Regions from separate parts of the Homo sapiens genome. Here regions 2 and 3 are each linked to region 1. Evidence: promoter capture Hi-C in human tissues and cell types (Jung and others, 2019). All regions are on one chromosome and are shown on one strand. The core of a region is centred on a gene start or on the middle of the fragment in contact, and the rest is flanking DNA. Distances in the headings are between cores, read along the strand shown.

Region 1 (2,829 bases), core at 195-2,694:
TTGTTGTATTTAATCTGAAAATGACTTTACCTACAACAGTTCCATTGTCAGCACAGCCTAGGAAGGTCAGATCCTGTATTAATTACTCTTAGTGGAGATGCCAGATATCCCATACAGAATTAGCAGAGAAAATACACACAGGCTTCTATTCAAATTTTCTTTAGTGCTTAAAATTAAGTTTTAAAATGAAATCAGACACTGCAGGTTTGTATATAAAATGAAAAGCTATACTACTTTTTACAAAAGGGCAAACTGGGCTGATGTAAATGTTTTACTTTCAACTGTGTTCTTTAAAATAAATCCTACCTGGTTTTTAAATTTTATTTTTCATGAAAATGCTCCTTTCTCTACATTTATTCATCCTATATACATCAGGCTGTAAGACCCCCCCCAGTCATCATTAATACAATGTGTTGGGATTCTGTGACTGGAAAAGGTGACAAGTTGGTGACTTTGACACTGCAGGTATTCCATTTTCATGGTTTACTATGAAAAGTCATTTTTCATATTATGTAATATATTGTTAGATTAAAACCATTGTATTAAGACTTTAAAATGTAAGCATTGTAATTCTGAAAATACACATTTTAAGAAGAAACTATTTTGCACTGGATCTTTTGCTGCGACATGGTGTGACAACAGTATGTAATGTGAAGATTTTATTGTTTTATCTCCCTAGTCCTTGTTCCTGACTCTTGGGCATAGATTATTTGCCTTTTGGGAAACATTCGGATTATTTTTTTTTTTTTTTTTTTTTTTTTCTCTGAGACAGTCATGCTCTGTTGCCTAGGCTGGAGTGCAATGGCGCGATCTGGGCTCACTGCAGCCTCCGCCTCCCAGGTTCAAGCCATTCTCCTGCCTCAGCCTCCCGAGTAGCTGGGACTACAGGCATGCGCCTCATTTTTATACTTTAGTAGAGATGATGTTTCACCATGTTGGCCAGGCTAGTCTCGAACTGCTGACCTCAGGTCATCCACCCGCCTCAGTCTCCCAGGCGTGAGCCACCGCACCGGCCAGCATTCGGGACTTTATTCATAATTCCTTACCCAACAGTTCACAAGAACGAAGACATTTGGGTGTGCAGCGCTCTCATGTTGTGGACGCTGCTGTGCCAGGCTGGGCGTCCGTGCGGAGCGCGCCCAGCGCTGGAGCGCGCCTAAGAGGCGCCCTGCAGTGTGGCTCCGGGGTGTGGGCGGGGCCCGGAGAAGGCCCCCGCCTTGGGAGGGGTTGGGCCTCGCGTTCAAACTCCGCCTCGGGGCGGGGCGAGGGCGACGCAGCTCCTCCTGCCTCCTGGGCCGCTGCGGACGGTGGTGCGCGACCCCGTCCCGGGCGCGCGCGCTGTGGGCGGTGCACGCCGTCGCTTCCCGGAAGTGCGTGCTGTGGGCGGTGCCGCGCGGACCCCCGGGAAGTGTCTCTGTGGGCGGCCGCCGGGTTGAGCTGCGGCACACGTGCGACGGCCGTGATGAAGTTCGCTTACCGGGTGAGCGCGGGCGGCGGGCGGTCTGTTGGATCGGCGCGGCTCTTCCGGTGGACGGCGCCTGAGCTGGCTCCGGGCGGGCTGGGGGCGCGTGGTCTGCTTTTGCGGCGTCTGGCCGCGTGGGGGTCGCCGGCTGTCTGCGCGCCCGTGGCCTCGGGGACGCGGGGCTGTGGTGGGGCTCCTGGGAGAGCTGGGACGGAGGCGCCGACGGCTTCTCGGAGGGAACAGGGACATTTGTCGGGGTCCCGGGATATTTTTAACCTGAGTATGGCCCAACCTAAAGGCTGGAGTTGGTGCAGTCGGGGAGGGCACAGCACCCTCGGGAGGGATGAGGAGGTGGGACGGGGCGGGGACGCGGGCGCGCGCAGGCGGGGTGAGAACAGCAGGGACCCGGGGCCCGGGACTGGTCCCTAACGAGCGAGCGTCCAGGTGAGCGGAAGGGCGGGGAACCCAGGTGTGAGCTCTGTTTCCCGAGGCCGGAGGGAATTCCTGAGGCGGACGCCCTCAGCTTTGAGAGCCAGGGAAGACTTGTCCCAGATGTGAAGTGCAGGAGGCGGGTGAGACAGGTAATAAGAGGGGGCCGTGGAGCCGGCCTGGGGGTCTCTGAAGCGTTTGCTACAGCTGGCCGGTTATGGGGACGCCTGTGTTTCCCACAGTGGCCCTGACCGTTGCGCTTCCAGGGTTGCACGGGCCGCCTGCTGCTGAGCCCACCGTGTACTACACTTGTCCTGTCCGAAACTGGGCATGGTACTGGCCCCTCAGAGTGCTGCTCCTGTGTCCCCTGTGCTGGTGGAGCCACCGCTGTGTGCCCAGCACCAAACCAGAAACCATATCCACGTCCTCACAGGCCAGGACTTCATCCGCTCCACATTCCTACTGCAAGGTGGCAAAAAATGTGCCTTGGAGCCTGCCTGGCCGCTTAAAGTCCTTCTGCTGACCAAGCTCCTCCCTGAGGTCCTGAGGGCGCTGCCCACTCACAGCTTCAGGGCCTGGCTGGTGCCTTCCCATTTAGATTCCAGCTCAGGTGACCCTTCCAGGTGCCTCTCCGTGACCACCGTCTAAAGTAGCCCCTGCTCCCACACTTCTCATCCCCCTCCTGCTAGAGAGAGAATATAAGGTGTGCGTGTCTGTGCGCATGGCAGTCTCCAGTGAACGCTCGTGCTCGTGAGTTAGTAAATAGGATGCTGGCTTACCACACTTCTGGAAGCCCTGAGTTCTAAGCACTTTTGGGGTGCTGTTCCATTGTTGCAGCTTTTTTCTTGGTGAAGTGTGGGCTCCATGCCCCTCTTCACCTGGCAGACGCCTCCTGTCTTGGGAGGCTTCCTCAGTGCTCACAGGGGCATCTTACCCAT
Region 2 (2,829 bases), core at 175-2,674, 250 kb after region 1:
TGGAAAGACCCCACTGGCATGCGGCACAACATCTGCTCTGAGAACTGCAGGAAAAGGCCGGGCAGGGCACCCCTGCCATCCTGCCAGTGAAGTTTACGGGTCTCGGAATGAGTGTGGCCAAGGGGCAAAGGGGAGGAGGGAGAGGGGGAGGTGGGGTTGCCTGAGAGTGCCCGCCCCAGGACAGCAGCCCGTAGCTCAGCCCCAAGAGCCCGGCACCGAGCTTCGAGCTGCGTGGCCCCGAAGAGGGGCTCAGTCACCTAATGTGATGAGGGGACGGCAGAGCAAAGGCTTGTCTGACAGTGACCGTCGTGTGTAGTGGAGAGGACGTGGCCAGAGATCTGGTTTCAGGGCAGGGATGAGGGGGGATTCCAGTCAGATCTTTTGCATCCCAGCAACCCTCCCCTTGACACCTTTGGGGCAGTGGCAGGGGATGACCATGGATGACCTCATGAGAACACTGTGGGTGTCAGGGACTCAGGGAGGCCCCGCAGGGCTTGAACATGCTTATGTTTCTCATTTGTAAAGGGAGGGCAGTCATCCGGTGGCTTCTTGTGGCCTCGGTGATGAAGGCCACATCAGAGCCAGGGGGAAAGGATATGAGAGAAAAAGATTCATTTGAATTATTGTCTTTTTCCTGGAGTGGAGAGATGTGGTACTCCCCAAAACTTCCTTTCTAGGCTGGGCACAGTGGCTCACGCCTGTAAAACCAGCACTTTGGGAAGCGGAGGCTGGTGGATCGCCTGAGGTCAGGAGTTTGAGACCAACCTGACCAACATGGTGAAACCCTGTTGCTACTACATACAAAAAAAATTAGCAGGGTGTGGTGATTGGCGCCCATAATCCCAGCTACTGGGGAGGCTAAGGCAGGAGAATCACTTGAACCAGGGAGACCGAGGTTGCAGTGAGCCGAGACTGCGTCACTGAACTCCAGCCTGAGCGACAAAGTGGGACTCCGTCTCAAAAAACAAGAAGAAAAAGAAACTTCCTTTGTGGACAGTGAGGGCTATTTAAAAAAATTTTGGAATATGAAAGTAGTCACTGGTGTCTGGAAGCAGGAGCTGTGCAGAATTGTACAGTTGCGAAACCATGTCGCTGGCAGCTGGTGCTGGCGGTGGAGACTTCCCTGTGCGGTGCTCAGTGCAGCTGCACCCGTGGGGGAGGGAGCTCTTTCTCTGGCCCTGCAGTCACCTGAGGTTGTTACCATTATGAACGGCCGCTGGGACCCCCGCATGTGCATGTACTCCCCCAGAGTGTCCGGGGGCCCCAGCCAAGGGACACAGCTCAGGCAGCTGGGAACATGTGCAGGCTGATGAAGAGAACCGGATGAGGGCTTCACATGAGGAAGCATGTGGCCAGGTCCTCTCAGAACATCAGCCTCATCTTCCTGTCTCTGATCTATTTCAGCAACCACCCCATGTGTCTCTAGAACCCCAGTGTAGCGAGCTGGAGAGAGGACTGTCCTGAGGGCAGCAGGCCTGGTTGCAGCTGGCGTGGGGGTCTCAGAATGGAGCCCTCAGCCCTGAGGAAAGCTGGCTCGGAGCAGGAGGAGGGCTTTGAGGGGCTGCCCAGAAGGGTCACTGACCTGGGGATGGTCTCCAATCTCCGGCGCAGCAACAGCAGCCTCTTCAAGAGCTGGAGGCTACAGTGCCCCTTCGGCAACAATGACAAGGTAGGCTTTCTGCTGGTCAGCCTGCAGTTGGCACGTGGCCACGGAGGTCACCGTTGGGCAGGTCATAGCTTGAGGCTGTGACGACGGGGGTGGGAAAGGGTCTGCTGACCTTGGGGGCTCCTGCCCAACCATACCTTTGGGAGAACAGAACTGGGGAGGGTGATGCGTGTCTCGTCTTCTGTGGGTTGCATGACCATTTCCCATGGTTGGTCTGATTGGGAAATCACCGGGTTAACTCAAAAATGTTGCGCTAGAGTCCTGGAAATCTGTTACCCGTGCTTACCTTGTTGCATAATGATTTCACATCCTTTATCCGATTGGGAGGGCCTGGGCCTGGGCTAGCTTTCCCCAAAGCCCTGGATACAAAGACACAAGTATGTTGAAAGCACATGGCATCTTGCAGTCCCCTTGCCAGGCAGGCAGGAGGGTGGCTGCCCTTTTTCCGATGGTGCAAGATCCAGGTCCCCAGATCCCCAGCCTCCACGTTTTCCACCACACCATGTTGTTCCCAAGGAAGGTGGTGGTGCTGTAGAAACTGTAAAGTGCGCGCACATTCAAAATGGTCCCAAGAGGAAATGATTTCTTAGATTCATTCCTCCCTCCTGAATCCCCACCGGAGAGTCTTGGCAAGGTGCTTCTAATCTTTGGCTCAGGGTCGCGCAGGCTTCCTTCCTTCAAGCAAATAGTGTGAAAGCTCCTCAAGGAGCTCAGATGTGTCTCCAGGGGGCTGGGTGTGCTCTTTCGAATGTTGGAAGATCTCAGTGTGCTGTCTTTACCTTCAGCAAGAAAGCCTCAGTTCGTGGATTCCTGAAAACATCAAGAAGAAAGAATGCGTGTATTTTGTGGAAAGTTCCAAACTGTCTGATGCTGGGTAAGTGACGTGATTTGTGTGTAAGACCTCTGACTTCTTCCTTCCGATCCCACATGGAGTAGCTGATCAGGCCAAGACCCCTCAGGGCCTCAGTGAAGGGTCACTGGAGATACCTCTGTCTCCATACGAGGCTTAGAGTCCACAGAGCATTTCCACCTAACCCTTGCAAGCCTCCTGTCGGGGACAGTTGACCCTCATCCTGCCTCGCAGGTGCAGGGACCAAAGTGCAGAGTTTAGGTGACTTGTTCAGGGTCATAAGGGCACTGTCGCGCGGCGAGGCCCAGTGGTG
Region 3 (2,829 bases), core at 234-2,733, 150 kb after region 1:
TACAGGGGCCTTGGGAGGGGGAGAAGGGATACACGTGGCACAGTGGTGTCCACTGCCTCCTTCCAGGATCTCACCGTCACCCAGGCTGGAGTGCAGTGGTGTTATCATAGCTCACTGCAGCCTCGACCTCCCCAGCTCAAGCAATCCTCCCAACTCAGCCTCCTGAGTAGCTGGGACTACAGGTGCATGCCACCATGCCTGGTTAATTTTTATTTTTATTTTTTTGTAGAGACAGAGTCTCACTATGTTGCCTAGGCTGGTCTCAAACTCCTGGGCTCAAATGATCCTCCCACATTGGTCTCCCAAAGTGCTGGGATTATAGGTGTGAGCCACTGTGCCCCGTCTCTTTTGTCTGGTGTGGGCCAGTATGCAAACACTCACCTTCTATATTTCGCTGGTTAGCCTTGACTTCATATGCAATAAGATCTGGAAAGGAAGATAAGAAGTAGCCCCTTTCTTCTTCCTCTGATCTCTTAATTTAAATTCGGCCAGGAAGTGAGCATCACAATTCGTTTTCCAAAGTCACAGGAGCCTGAGGTCCCCTGCCATCCCGCCCTCACACCTTATCTTGGTGTGTTAAACGCCCATACCTGGGGGAAGACTGTGGGTGGGGAACCTCCTGCCCCAGCCCGGGTGCCTGAATAATGCATGAATACTCCAGAAGCCTGGAACTCCAGACCTCATCCAGGCCTGGGATCAGCATCCTAAGTGACTGGTCCAATAAGCAGATGAGCCCTCACCTCTGCCTGTCCCGGGTGAAACGGAGCTTGAGAGCTCACTGGATCCCACCAAAATCACGTCCATGCTGGGCTCGGCCTCTGGGTCCAGGGCTGGGATGGCCGCCATGGGGATGCTGTGTCAGGACACACGGACACAGATGTGAGAAAGCCGTCAGCCCCTGCTCAGATCCCTGATGCACCCCAGCACGGGAAGCAGCTTGCTGAGCAGACCTTGACTAGTTCAGGCCACCTGAACCCCCGCGGTGACACCCACCTGCCCAACCCAGGGATGAGGGGCAGGACAGCCAAGGCCAGTGCCAGCCCTGAGAGGGGCTCAAGGGTCCCCTGAGGCGTGCCCCCCACCTGCCTGGCCCTGTTACAACATGGAAGATGGGGCAAAAAGGGGAGGGCAGGGCCCTCATGAGGACCTGGGGCCAATGGCCGCTGCAGCCCCTGCTTTCCTCTGGGCCCAGCCTTCGACCCCTCAGGGACTCCCATGCCCCAGCCTCCTACAGTGTCCCTCAGGCCCAGCAGGGACCCCTGGGGATGGTCTTGGCCAGCCGCACCCTTGAAGGCAGCATGGTCAGGGAGTAGGAAAGAGACTCACAGGGCTGCTGCCACGGCTCCGGGTACAGCCAGCTGGTGGGTTCAAGGTTCCAGTGGTCCGGGGCTTCCAGGCTCAGGGTCCCCGGGGAGGACTGGGCCATGGAACGAGGGACGGCGCAGGCAAAGAATGAGCTGGAAGGATCCAGGCCCACCTGGGACAGCGGGTGGCCAGAGGTCACCAGGCTATGGGGGCAAAGAATCTGGGCGTGTCCCGCGGGGGCGGGGAGGGGCGGGGGCGGGGCAGCCCTTCAGTGCCGGTTTGCAGTGGGAGGGGCGAGGAGCTGCGGGGGGTCACTTGGGGTGGGGAGCTAGGAAGCTGGGGGACGGGCAGGGAAAGGGAACCCTCAGGTGGGGAGGGTTAAGAGCTCAGTGGGGCTGGGGGATTGGGGTTCAGAGGATGGGGCCCTCAGGGTGGAGTGAGGGGTGGGGTTTGGGGACCTCAGTGGGGAGTGGGGTTCAGGGGAGGGGTGGAGATGGGAGGACTGGGGATGGGGCAGATGAGGGGGGTTTCAGTAGAGGGGGGCCCTTGGGGTGGGGTGGGGGATAGGGGTGGCTGTGGGGTAGGGGCAGGGCGCTCAGAGGTGGGGTTTAGGAAGGTCATAGGGGTGGGCTTCAGGGCAAGGGTGAAGAAAGGGATGAGGGTGGAGGGTGGAGGGGTGGAGGGGTGGAGGGTGGAGGGTGGAGGGTGGAGGTAGGGCAGGGCGGGGGGTTAGGTGGAGTTGGCCCCCTGGGTGGAGATGGGTGAGGATTAGTGGAGGTGGCCCTCAGGGCAGGGTGGGTGGGTGGAGGGCGGGGCTTAGGGAGATCTGTTGGGGGATTAGGGAGTGGGGGTGGGGGTGGATGCTGAGTTGGAGATGGGGGCCTTCAGGGGAGGTGGTCCTTTGGCGGGATGGGGGTGATGATAGGGTGAGGGTGGGCACTCCGGGGCAGGGCTCAGTGGCGGGGGTCGGGGCTCAGGGCAAGGGTAGAGACGGGGTGAAAGTAGGAATGGGGGTGTGAGGCCGAGGATGGGGGTTTCAGGGGAGGTGGCCTTTAGGGCAGGATAGGGGTGAGAATGGGGTGGGGATGGGCCTCAGGGATCTCAGGGTCGGTTGGGATGGGAGTGGGGGTGGGGGTAGATGGTGAGGAGGAGATGGGGGTGTTCAGGGGAGGTGGTCCTCTGGCGGGATAGAGGGAGGGGCGTTCAGGAGCCGGGCTTGGGAGCTCAGTCTGGAGCCCCAGGTTTGGGGGGCAGCTGTGGGGGAGAGAAGGAAACAGGGAAGGCCCTGGAGGATGGGGTAAGGGGTGTTGGGTGGGGAATGTCAGGGCAGGTGGGGGGTTGGGGAGCTGGGAGGGGTAGGTTCAGGGTGGGGGTGGAACGTGGAAGCAGGGAAGGGAGCAGGAAGGTGGGGTGGGCAGAGGGGCAGTGTGGGAGGTGCGGGGTGGGTTGGGAAGGGGGACTTTGTTGGAGGGAGGTTAGGGGCTTCAGAGCAGGGGGCGGAGGACCGCCGGGCAGGGCTGGAGC

The links. The method cuts DNA at HindIII sites, captures the fragments that hold promoters and counts their contacts. A contact is called where the count stands out against the background at its distance.
Region 2: a contact is called between the fragment with the promoter of TRPM2 here and the fragment with the promoter of PWP2 in region 1, in 3 of the 25 tissues and cell types used here (lymphoblastoid cells, spleen and thymus).
Region 3: the fragment with the promoter of DNMT3L here is called in contact with the fragment with the promoter of PWP2 in region 1 in 2 of the 25 tissues and cell types used here (lymphoblastoid cells and mesenchymal stem cells).

The regions. Positions count from the first base shown.
Region 1 is chr21:44,105,955-44,108,783 of GRCh38, forward strand. It overlaps PWP2 (PWP2 small subunit processome component), which reads left to right and starts at 1,445. Exons shown (of 21, transcript NM_005049.3): 1 at 1,445-1,480. The coding sequence starts at 1,463. It overlaps TRAPPC10 (trafficking protein particle complex subunit 10), which reads left to right. Exons shown (of 23, transcript NM_003274.5): 23 at 1-598. RefSeq lists silencers at 991-1,507, 1,098-1,481. The HindIII fragment of the contact is 7,831 bases long and covers 1-2,829 here.
Region 2 is chr21:44,352,197-44,355,025 of GRCh38, forward strand. It overlaps TRPM2 (transient receptor potential cation channel subfamily M member 2), which reads left to right and starts at 1,425. Exons shown (of 32, transcript NM_003307.4): 1 at 1,425-1,669; 2 at 2,452-2,540. The coding sequence starts at 1,505. RefSeq lists enhancers at 1,641-1,690, 1,851-1,900. The HindIII fragment of the contact is 21,861 bases long and covers 1-2,829 here.
Region 3 is chr21:44,260,414-44,263,242 of GRCh38, forward strand. DNMT3L (DNA methyltransferase 3 like) reads right to left here and starts at 1,484. Exons shown (of 12, transcript NM_175867.3): 1 at 1,327-1,484; 2 at 741-853; 3 at 382-426. The coding sequence starts at 846. RefSeq lists an enhancer at 1,199-1,758. The HindIII fragment of the contact is 12,940 bases long and covers 1-2,829 here.